Linked DNA regions of Homo sapiens: region 1 is linked to region 2. Evidence: promoter capture Hi-C in human tissues and cell types (Jung and others, 2019). All regions are on one chromosome and are shown on one strand. Each heading gives the region's core, a stretch centred on a gene start or on the middle of the fragment in contact. The rest is flanking DNA. Distances are from core to core; before and after follow the strand shown.

Evidence for each region. Contacts are between HindIII fragments. The study calls those that stand out against the background at their distance.
Region 1: a contact is called between a fragment that was not itself captured here and the fragment with the promoter of NCR1 in region 2, in 2 of the 25 tissues and cell types used here (mesenchymal stem cells and pancreas).

Annotation. Positions count from the first base shown.
Region 1 is chr19:54,983,816-54,988,394 of GRCh38, forward strand. NLRP2 (NLR family pyrin domain containing 2) reads left to right here. Exons shown (of 13, transcript NM_017852.5): 7 at 1,232-1,402; 8 at 2,336-2,500. Among named protein-coding and RNA genes, the nearest start is that of NLRP2, 20 kb to the left of the region's middle. The HindIII fragment of the contact is 9,446 bases long and covers 1-4,579 here.
Region 2 is chr19:54,904,826-54,910,629 of GRCh38, forward strand. NCR1 (natural cytotoxicity triggering receptor 1) reads left to right here and starts at 1,323. Exons shown (of 7, transcript NM_004829.7): 1 at 1,323-1,396; 2 at 1,474-1,509; 3 at 1,698-1,982; 4 at 4,420-4,698; 5 at 5,193-5,240. The coding sequence starts at 1,363. The HindIII fragment of the contact is 21,719 bases long and covers 1-5,804 here.

The DNA of each region.
Region 1 (4,579 bases), core at 556-3,055, 79 kb after region 2:
TGGCTTAGGGTCAGGAATTCCCTCTTGTTGGACTCTTTGTTTGTTTTTGTTTTGAGATGGAGTCTTGCTCTGTCGCTCAGGCTGGAGCGCAGTGGCGCGATCTTGGCTCCCTGCAACCTCCGCCTCCCGGGTTCAAGTGATTCTTCTGCCTCAGCCTCCTGAGTAGCTGGGACTACAGGCGCCTGCCACCTTGCCCGGCTAATTTTTATATTTTCATTAGAGACGGGATCTCAGCATGTTGGCCAGTCTGGTCTTGAACTCCGCCTGACCTCAGGTGATCCACCTGCCTCAGCCTCCAAAGTGGGATTACAGGCATGATTCACCATGCCCGGCCCAAATATATTTTTTTAAGACAGGGTCTTGCTGTGTTGCTCAGGCTGGAGTACAGTGGTGAAATCAGCTCACTGCATCCTCAAACTTCTGGGTTCAAGTGATGTTCCTGAGTACCTGGGATGACAGGTATTAAGTGTGCACCATCATGTCCAGCTAACTTAAGTGGGGGTTTTTTTTTGTGTTTTTTTTTTTTTTTTTTTTTTTGGAAAGACAAAATCTCACTATGTTGTCCAGGCTGGTCTTGAACTCCCAAAGCACTGAGATTACAGGCATGAGTTACCACACGCCCTGCCTGAATATTTCTTATTGATATGTATAGATATGTATATTCCCAATCTTTTTTTTTTTTTTTGAGACGGAGTTTCACTCTTTTTCCCAGGTCGGAGTGAAGTGGCTCGATCTCGGCTCACTGCAACCTCCGCCCCACCAGGTTCAATGATTCTCCTGCCTCAGCCTCATGAGTAGCTGGGATTACAGCCACCCACGACCATGCCCAGCTAATTTTTGTACTTTTAGTAGAGACGGGGTTTCACCATGTTGGCCAGGCAGGTCTCGAACTCCCGACCTCAGGTGATCCACCCGCCTCAGCCTCACAAAGTGCTAGGATTATAGGCGTGAGTCACCGTGCCCGGTCTATATTCTCTATCTTTTATCAATGATGTGCTTAGCATTTTAACTTATTTTTACCCTCTATTGGATTTTTGTCTAAGAAGAATAGGTTCTTTCTCCTGTGATGCTTCTTGGGTGTTGAGTTGTCTGATGGTGGTGCTAATAAGTGATTACATGGTCCAGCTTTCAATTGTACTCATTTGTCAGGGGTATATGCCCAGAGAAACCCTAAATACTTCAGCCGTGATGGACACACATTTGGTGTAACCCTTTCTTCTCTTCCCTATAGATCCCAGGATGATCAGCACATGCTTCCTTTCTGGACGGACCTTTGTTCCATATTTGGATCAAATAAGGATCTGATGGGTCTAGCAATCAATGATAGCTTTCTCAGTGCCTCCCTAGTAAGGATCCTGTGTGAACAAATAGCCTCTGACACCTGTCATCTCCAGAGAGTGGTGTAAGTAGAAACTAATTCATGAACTCAAATCCTTAGGGTATGAAAATGGTACAATGTTAACATCGGAGCAATATTCAGATTCCTGTACTAGACTCTTAAGTGCTCGAGACACAGGGAATTGAGAGAGTCCTGTCCTTAAATTTATTTTGTGGGATAATCGTATAAAGTAATTTCTAGGGGCTGGGCATGGTGGTTCACACTTGTAATTCCAACACTTCGGGAGGCCGAGGCAGACAGATCACTTGAGGTCAGGAGTTCGAGACCAGCCTGGCCAACGTGACAAAACCCTGCCTCTACTAAAAATACAAAAATTATCCAGGCGTGGTGGCAGGCACCTGTAATATCAGCTACTTGGGAGGCTGAGGCAGGAGAATTACTTGAACCCAGGAGGCGGAGGTTGCAGTGAACCAAGATCCTGCCACTGGACTCCAGTCTGAGTGACAGAGCGAGACTGCGTCTCAAAAAAAAAAAAAAAAAAAAAGAAAAAGAAAAAAAGGGCCGGGCACAATGGCTCACGCCTGTAGTCCCAGCACTTTGGGGGCCCAAGGTGGGGGGATCACTTGAGGTCAGGAGTTCAAGACCAGCCTGGCCAAGATGGTGCAAGACCCTGTCTCTACGAAAAATACAAAAATTTGCCAGGTGTCGTGGCAGGTGCCTATAATCCCAGCTACTCCGGATGCTGAGGGTAGGAGTCGCTTGAATCCGGGAGGCAGAGTTTGCTTTGCAGTGAGCCGAGATCGCGCCACTGCACTCCAGCCTGGGCAACAGAGTGAGACTCCATCTCAAAGAAAAAAAAAATCTGTAAAGATGGACAAAAATTTAAACATGGAAAAAATAGTTCCTAAAGTTTAAATATATCGAGCCCCTGGTTTCCATTTAAGTACGATACAGGTGTACACACTAAAGATTTCACTTTCGTTCTCTTTTCCCTAGGTTCAAAAACATTTCCCCAGCTGATGCTCATCGGAACCTCTGCCTAGCTCTTCGAGGTCACAAGACTGTAACGTATCTGACCCTTCAAGGCAATGACCAGGATGATATGTTTCCCGCATTGTGTGAGGTCTTGAGACATCCAGAATGTAACCTGCGATATCTCGGGTATATCTCTTAATCATTAAAATCCTTCATCATACAAACATAAGCTACCACAAGCTTATGTGGCAATTTTGTGTAAATAAGAAAAAGTTCGTTATTCTGACTAGAAACAGTACTAAGGGCAGATGACCCAGGATGCAGCATGGGCTGAACTTGAGTTTCTACTTGCCTTGAACAGTAAACACCCTGGACAACCATACGTGAGGACCCTGAATCCAAAGAAACTCCCAGAATCTTTATCATCTTTTTTTTTTTTTTTATGAAGTCTTGCTCTGTTGCCCAGGCCAAAGTGCAATGGCACGATCTTGGCTCACTGCAACCTCTGTCTCCTGGGTTCAAGTAATTCTGCTGCCTCAGCCTCCCAAGTTGCTGGGATTACAGGCACCCGCCACCACGCCCGGCTAATTTTTGTGCATTTAGTGGAGCTGGTTTCGCCACATTGCCAGGCTGGTCTCGAACTCATGACCTCAGGTGACCTGCCCTCCTCAGGCTCCCAAAGTGCTGGGATTATAGGCATGAGCCACCATGCCCAGCCAGAGTCCTTATGTTTTGGTTTTGGTTTTGGTTTTTTCTTTTTCTTTTTTCTTTTTGAGATGGAGTCTCGCTCTGTCACCCAGGCTGGAGTGCGTTGGTATGATCTCAGGTCACTGCAGCCTCCACCTCCCAGGTTCAAGTGATTCTCCTGCCTCAGCCTCCTGAGTAGCTGGGATTACAGGTGCACACCACCACACCTGGTTAATTTTTGTATTATTAGTAGAGATGGAGTTTTACCACATTGGCCAGGCTGGTCTCGAACTCATGACCTCAGGTGATCTACCCCCCCACCCCCACCCCACCCCGCCGTCGGCCTCCCAAAGTGAGGCATGAGCCACCGTGCCCAGCCCAGAATCTTTATCTTCTATCAGAGATCATTCACTCATGGTTCATGCTTCTCCTGTATGATGATTCAGAATACCAGCTATTGACATTTTTCAAGCAAGAACCCTTCAGGAACATCAAGTTGCCCCTTTTCTGTTAGTCCTCTGGTTTGAGAGCTCTCCCCTTGGGAAGCTGTCCAGTGGCTGCCCAGGCGATGAGAACCTACATGCATCATGGGGTTCCATGAAGCCTCACTTGGCCACACTGGTGTAGTAGGTGGTCATTGGCCTCAAATTATTGCCCTGGGCCAGGCGCAGTGGCTCACGCCTGGGAGGCCGAGGTGGGTGGATCACTTGAGGTCAGGAGTTCAAGACCGGCCTGGTCAACATGGTGAAACTCTGTCTCTACTAATAATACAAAAATTAGCTGGGCATGTTGGCGCACGCCTGTAGTCCCAGCTACTCAGGAGGCTGAGGCAGGAGCATCATTTGAACCTGAGAGGCGGAGGTTGCAGTGAGCTGAGATCACACCACCGCACTCCAGTCTGGGCAACAGTGTGAGACTGTCTCAAAAAAAAAAAAAAAAATCTTGGCTGGGTGCGGTAGCTCATGCCTGTAATCCCAGCACTTTGGGAGGCCAAGGCAGGTGGATCACAAGGTCAGGAGTTCAAGACCAGCCTGGCCAACATGGTGAAACCCCACGTCTACTAAAAATACAAAAACATTAGCTGGGCATGGTGGCGCGTGCCTGTAATCCCAGCTACTCATGGAGGCTGATGCAAGAGAATTGCTTGAACCTAGGAGGCAGAGGTAGCAGTGAGCCAAGATCACGCCATTGCACTCCAGCCTGGGCAACAGAGCAAAACTCCATCTCGAGGACAGAAAAAAAATTGATTGCTCTGGCTCTACTGATACAATCTTAGGCTGCTTAATGGGATCTTAGTTGAATAGGATGCTGTACATCTTACAGGTATTGGAAGGTTGAATGAAACCAAGCCCATGCATTCAATAGTGGCTGCTATCATTACTAACCGTTGCAATTACCCTCTTTTCTTTTTGCCTGAGAATAATGGGATGCAGGGTGAGGGGGAATATTGGGTGAATTAAAGATTTGGGTCACTAATTTCTTTCTTTTTTTCTCAAGATATAGTCTTGCTCTGTCTCCTAGGCTGGAGTGCAGTGCCACAATCTTGGTTCACTGCAACCTCTGCCTCCCGGGTTCAAG
Region 2 (5,804 bases), core at 73-2,572:
CTGGCCAGTATTTGGTTTTCTGTTTCTGTGTTAACTCGCTTAGGATAATGGCCTCTAGCTGCATCCATGTTGCTGCAAAGGACATAATCTTGTGATTTTTCAAGGCTGTATAGCGTTCTGTGGTGTATACATATCACATTGTCTTTATCCAGTCCACCTCTGATGGGACCTGGGTGGATTCCATGTCTTCACTATTGTGAATCCTGCTGCAATGAACATACAAGTGCATGTGTCTTTTTGGTAGAATGATTTATTTTCCTTTGGCTATATACCCAGCGATGGGATTGCTGGGCTGAATGGTAACTCTGTTTGTAGTTCTCTGAAATATCTCCAAACCAAACTGCTTTCCACAGTGGCTGAACTAATTTACACCCACCAACAGTGTATAAGTGTCCCCTTTGCTCCACAATCTCACCAGCATCTGTTAATTTCTGGCTTTTCAGTAATGGCCATTCTGACTGGTGTGAGATGGTATTGTTGAGGGATAATTTAGGAATCAGAGAGACCGAGGGGTTGAGGAGGATTTATTATTATTATTATTATTTAGGTGCACCGGCCCCAGTCAGATTAACATCCAAAAAGACTGAGGCTCGAACAGAGAGTCCGGTTACCTTTTAAGCATTTTGTGGGGTTGGGGGAGATCTGTGCAGGGGGAAGCATATTACAGAAGCAAGAAACAAAGGCAGTTATTCAATTGAGACATGCATCACATTATTCCTTACTTTTCAAGAAAAATATGTTTTACGACTTGAGGTTATCCTGTCTAGTGACCTTGCAGCCGCACGGCAAGAGAAACAGGGTCTTCACAATGCCTGGGAAAGGGAGAGATAAGGCTCACTAGCCACAGACAGAAAAACAGGCAGTTCATGTTTAAAGGACTCCACCTCTTTCTCTTCCTCGGGGGGAACTGGGTTTTCTTAAATACAACTGAGTTTTTGTTTACACATTCTGTAATTTCTTTTAATTCCTGTTCCAGTATCTCACTGTGAAACTCCCTATGTTTTTATACGATTCTCAGGGGGTTTCCTCTGGGCATGATTGGGCACAACTTCCCACAGTCAGCTCTGGGTACGACCTCCACATTGCAGAATTGAGAAGTTGACCCAGAAATGCATTTTGGGCTGAGCAGACAATTGTCAGAGTTGCTGGCTAGACCACAGATGTGTCAGAGGGACCACGGCCTTTCTGTAAGCTCATGGTCAGAGGCGGAGGGGAGTTGTGAACGTTCTGATGAAAGCAGTCAACGTGAAAGCGCTCTGGTGATGGGCGCTGGTGCTCACCCACCACTTCCTGTGTATCTATCTCCCTGGCCCGCCCGGCTCAGTCCCCACTGCTCAGCACTAGGCCGGCAGAATCTGAGCGATGTCTTCCACACTCCCTGCCCTGCTCTGCGTCGGTGAGTTCTGGCGTGGAAGGGGAATGGGATCACGGTGTGCCTGGGAGGCAACAGGTCTCATTACTCCCGTCTTCCAGGGCTGTGTCTGAGTCAGAGGATCAGCGCCCAGCAGCGTGAGTCCTTCCTTCAAAGCCCAGGGTCACTCTTCCGGATTCAGGCCAAGCTCCTTCCACCCAAGCACGGCTGGGGTGAGGGGACAGGGTGCTGGCTTCCCAGGAGAGCTTGGGGCCAGCAGCTGGGTGGAGCCTAAGGTTGGGGGGAGGGGGCTCCGCTGGAACTCCAGCCTCTGATTCCCTTCCAGAGACTCTCCCAAAACCGTTCATCTGGGCCGAGCCCCATTTCATGGTTCCAAAGGAAAAGCAAGTGACCATCTGTTGCCAGGGAAATTATGGGGCTGTTGAATACCAGCTGCACTTTGAAGGAAGCCTTTTTGCCGTGGACAGACCAAAACCCCCTGAGCGGATTAACAAAGTCCAATTCTACATCCCGGACATGAACTCCCGCATGGCAGGGCAATACAGCTGCATCTATCGGGTTGGGGAGCTCTGGTCAGAGCCCAGCAACTTGCTGGATCTGGTGGTAACAGGTAACTGTCCGGTTCTCTAACTGGAGAGTGATCTCAGTCTGCATCCGGGATGCAGCATCATCTATGAACTCTTCCAAGCCCCACTCAGACACTGCTTGTCTCGGTAGGAGGCTGGAAGGAGGGGTGATCCCCATCACAATCCTTGCCTACAAGGGGTTGTCTGCAGACCGTGTCTCTACGTCCTAGGAGCAGATGTGTCCTCAGTCAGTTTCTCCATGACACAGATTCTGAGATAGATATTTGTATGCAGGGGTATGACTGAGGAATGTCCTCAAAAACAATGCCTGTGGGCCAGGCGCAGTGGCTTACACTTTGCTTCCCTCACCCATCACAGGTGGTGGGTTTTTTTTTTTTTTATCTGTTTTGAGACGGAGTTTCGCTCTTGTCACCCAGGCTGGAGTGCAGTGGTGCAATCTCCAGTCACTGCAACCTCCACCTCCTGGGTTCAAGTGATTCTCCAGCCTCAGCTTCCCAAGTAGCTGGGATCACAGGCACCCACCACTACGCCACATTTTGTATTTTTAGTAGAGATGGGGTTTCACCATGTTGGCCAGGGTGGTGTCGAACTCCTGACCTCAGATGATCCGCCCGCCTCACCCTCCCAAAGTGCTGGGATTACAGGTGTGAGCCATCACACCCAGCCAGGTGGTGGTTTTCTAAAAAAAAAAAAAAATTAGCTTTTTTTTTTTTTTAACAATATGGTTGTTTATTATTATTATCAAGTATTATACATAGTTACATATACATACATAATTGTATGTGCTATACAATTAGGTTTGTTTATACCAGCAACACCAAAAACACATGAGCAATACTTTGTGCTAGGAAGGCTATGATGTCATCAGGCAATAGGAATTTTTCAGTTTCATTATAATCTTATGGGACCACCATCATATATGTGGTACATTGTTGGCCAAAATGTCATTATGCAGCTCACAACAGTATTTCATGTCCATTCAAATATCTTCTTTTGTGAAATGTCTATTTAAATCTTTTGCCTATTTTTAAATTGGGTTGCTTATATTTTGATTGATTAGGAAAAGTTATTTCTATATTCTGTGTCATATACTTGTGTTGAAATATATATATTTTTTGTCTGTGCCTTTTCATTTGCTCAGGGTCTTTGGACCTTGTTTGGAGGTTCTGGCAGGGGAACACAGCTACTCATTTATTCTTTTTTTTTTAATTTTTTTAGTATTTATTGATCATTCTTGGGTGTTTCTCGGAGAGGGGGATTTGGCAGGGTCATAGGACAATAGTGGAGAGAAGGTCAGCAGATAAACATGTGAACAAAGGTCTCTGGCTTTCCTAGGCAGAGGTCCCTGCGGCCTTCCGCAGTGTTTGTGTCCCTGGGTACTTGAGATTAGGGAGTGGTGATGACTCTTAAGGAGCATGCTGCCTTCAAGCATCTGTTTAACAAAGCACATCTTGCACCGCCCTTAATCCATTTAACCCTGAGTGGACACAGCACATGTTTCAGAGAGCACGGGGTTGGGGGTAAGGTCATAGATTAACAGCATCCCAAAGCAGAAGAATTTGTCTTAGTACAGAACAAAATGGAGTCTCCTATGTCTACTTCTTTCTACACAGACACAGTAACAATCTGATCTCTCTTTCTTTTCCCCACATTTCCCCTTTTTCTATTCGACAAAACCGCCATCGTCATCATGGCCCGTTCTCAATGAGCTGTTGGGTACACCTCCCAGACGGGGTGGCGGCCGGGCAGAGGGGCTCCTCACTTCCCAGACGGGGCGGCCGGGCAGAGGCGCCCCCCCACCTCCCAGACGGGGCAGTGGCCGGGCGGGGGCTGCCCCCCAACCTCCCGGACGGGGCGGCTGGCCGGGGCTTTTTTTTTTTTTTTTGAGACAGTCTCGCTGCAGTGCAGTGGTACAATCTCAGCTCACTGCAACCTCTGCCTCAGCCTCAATTCTCCTGCCTCAGCCTCCCAAGTAGTTGAGATTACAGGCATGTGCCACCACACCCGGCTAATTTTTGCATTTTTAGTAGAGACGGGGTTTCACCATGTTGACCAGGCTGGTCTCAAACTCCTGACCCAGGAGGTCGAGGCTTCAGTAAGCAAAGATAGTGCCACGGCGCTCCAGCCTGGGAAACAGAGCAAGACCCTGTATCATTTTTAAAAATGGTTTTAGACGGTAAATCTTCTATTGTGTGTATTTGACCAAAATAATAATTAAAAAAAAAAAAAAAAGCTGGCTGCCAGGCATGGTGGCAGGCCCCTGTAGTCCCAGCTACTTGGGAGGGTGAGGCAGGAGAAACGCTTGAACCCGGGAGGCGGAGGTTGCAGTGAGCCAAGATCGTGTCACTGCACTCCAGCCTGGGCGACAGAGAGAGACTCCATCTCTAAAGAAAGAAAAAAAAAAATAGCTGGCTGCTCATCACTGAGTTTCTGGTGTGGTGGCCCCACCTTCTCTCATAGAAATGTATGACACACCCACCCTCTCGGTTCATCCTGGACCCGAAGTGATCTCGGGAGAGAAGGTGACCTTCTACTGCCGTCTAGACACTGCAACAAGCATGTTCTTACTGCTCAAGGAGGGAAGATCCAGCCACGTACAGCGCGGATACGGGAAGGTCCAGGCGGAGTTCCCCCTGGGCCCTGTGACCACAGCCCACAGAGGGACATACCGATGTTTTGGCTCCTATAACAACCATGCCTGGTCTTTCCCCAGTGAGCCAGTGAAGCTCCTGGTCACAGGTGAGGAAATGCTCAATTCCCCACACCCTTCGCCGCCATGTGCTACCTGGAGCCCTGAGGGATCCCCAGAGAGTGATGGGGAGGGTGTCCAAGGGACGTCCACTTCCTGGGTGCCTGGTTGGTCATGTGAGGAAGAACACCAGAAGCAGGAAGGAGGAGGGAACAGAGAAAGGAATGGTAAGGCGGGTGGATCACAAGGTCAGGAGTTCGAGACCAGCCTGGCCAAGACGGTGAAACCCCGTCTCTACTAAAAATACAGAAATTAGCCAGACGCAGTGGCGGACACCTGTAGTCCCAGCTACTCAGGAGGCTGAGGCAGGAGAATCGCTTGAACCCGGGAGGCGGGGGTTGTAGTGAACCGAGATCATACCACCGCACTGCAACCTGGGCGACAGAGCAAGACTCCATCTCAAAAAAAAAAAAAAAAAAAAAAGAATGGCAAGACCGGAGGAAACCAAAAACCCTTACTTTTTTTTCTTTATCTCCTTTTCCAGGCGACATTGAGAACACCAGCCTTGCACCTGAAGACCCCACCTTTCCTGGTGAGTAACTGGTCCTTCTAAGCTCAGACGAGCGATCAGAGCCTCCCAGTGACACTAAAAACGTGGCATTCATTCAAAATATTCATCGAGGCCAGGCGTGGTGGCTCACGCCTGTAATCCCAGCACTTTGGGAGGCCGAGATGGTGCATCATTTGAGGTCAGGAGTTTGAGACCAGCCTGGCCAACATGGCGAAACCCTGTCTCTACTAAAAATACAAAACTTAGGCTGGGCATCATGGCTCACACCTGTAATCCCAACACTTCGGGAGGCCAAGGTGGTTGGATCACAAGGTCAGGAATTCGAGACCAGCCTGACCAACATGGTGAAACCCCATCTCTACTAAAAATACAAAAATTAGCCGGGCCTGGTGGTGCTCGCCTGTAATCCCAGCTACTCAGGAGGCTGAGGCAGGAGAATTGTTGAACCTGGGATGCAGAGGTTGCAGTGAGCTGAGATCGCGCCACTGCATTCCACTCCACTGCACGACACAGCGAGACTCCATCTCACAGAAAAACAAAAACAAAACTATTATATATATATATTCATCAAGTGCATAGTATACA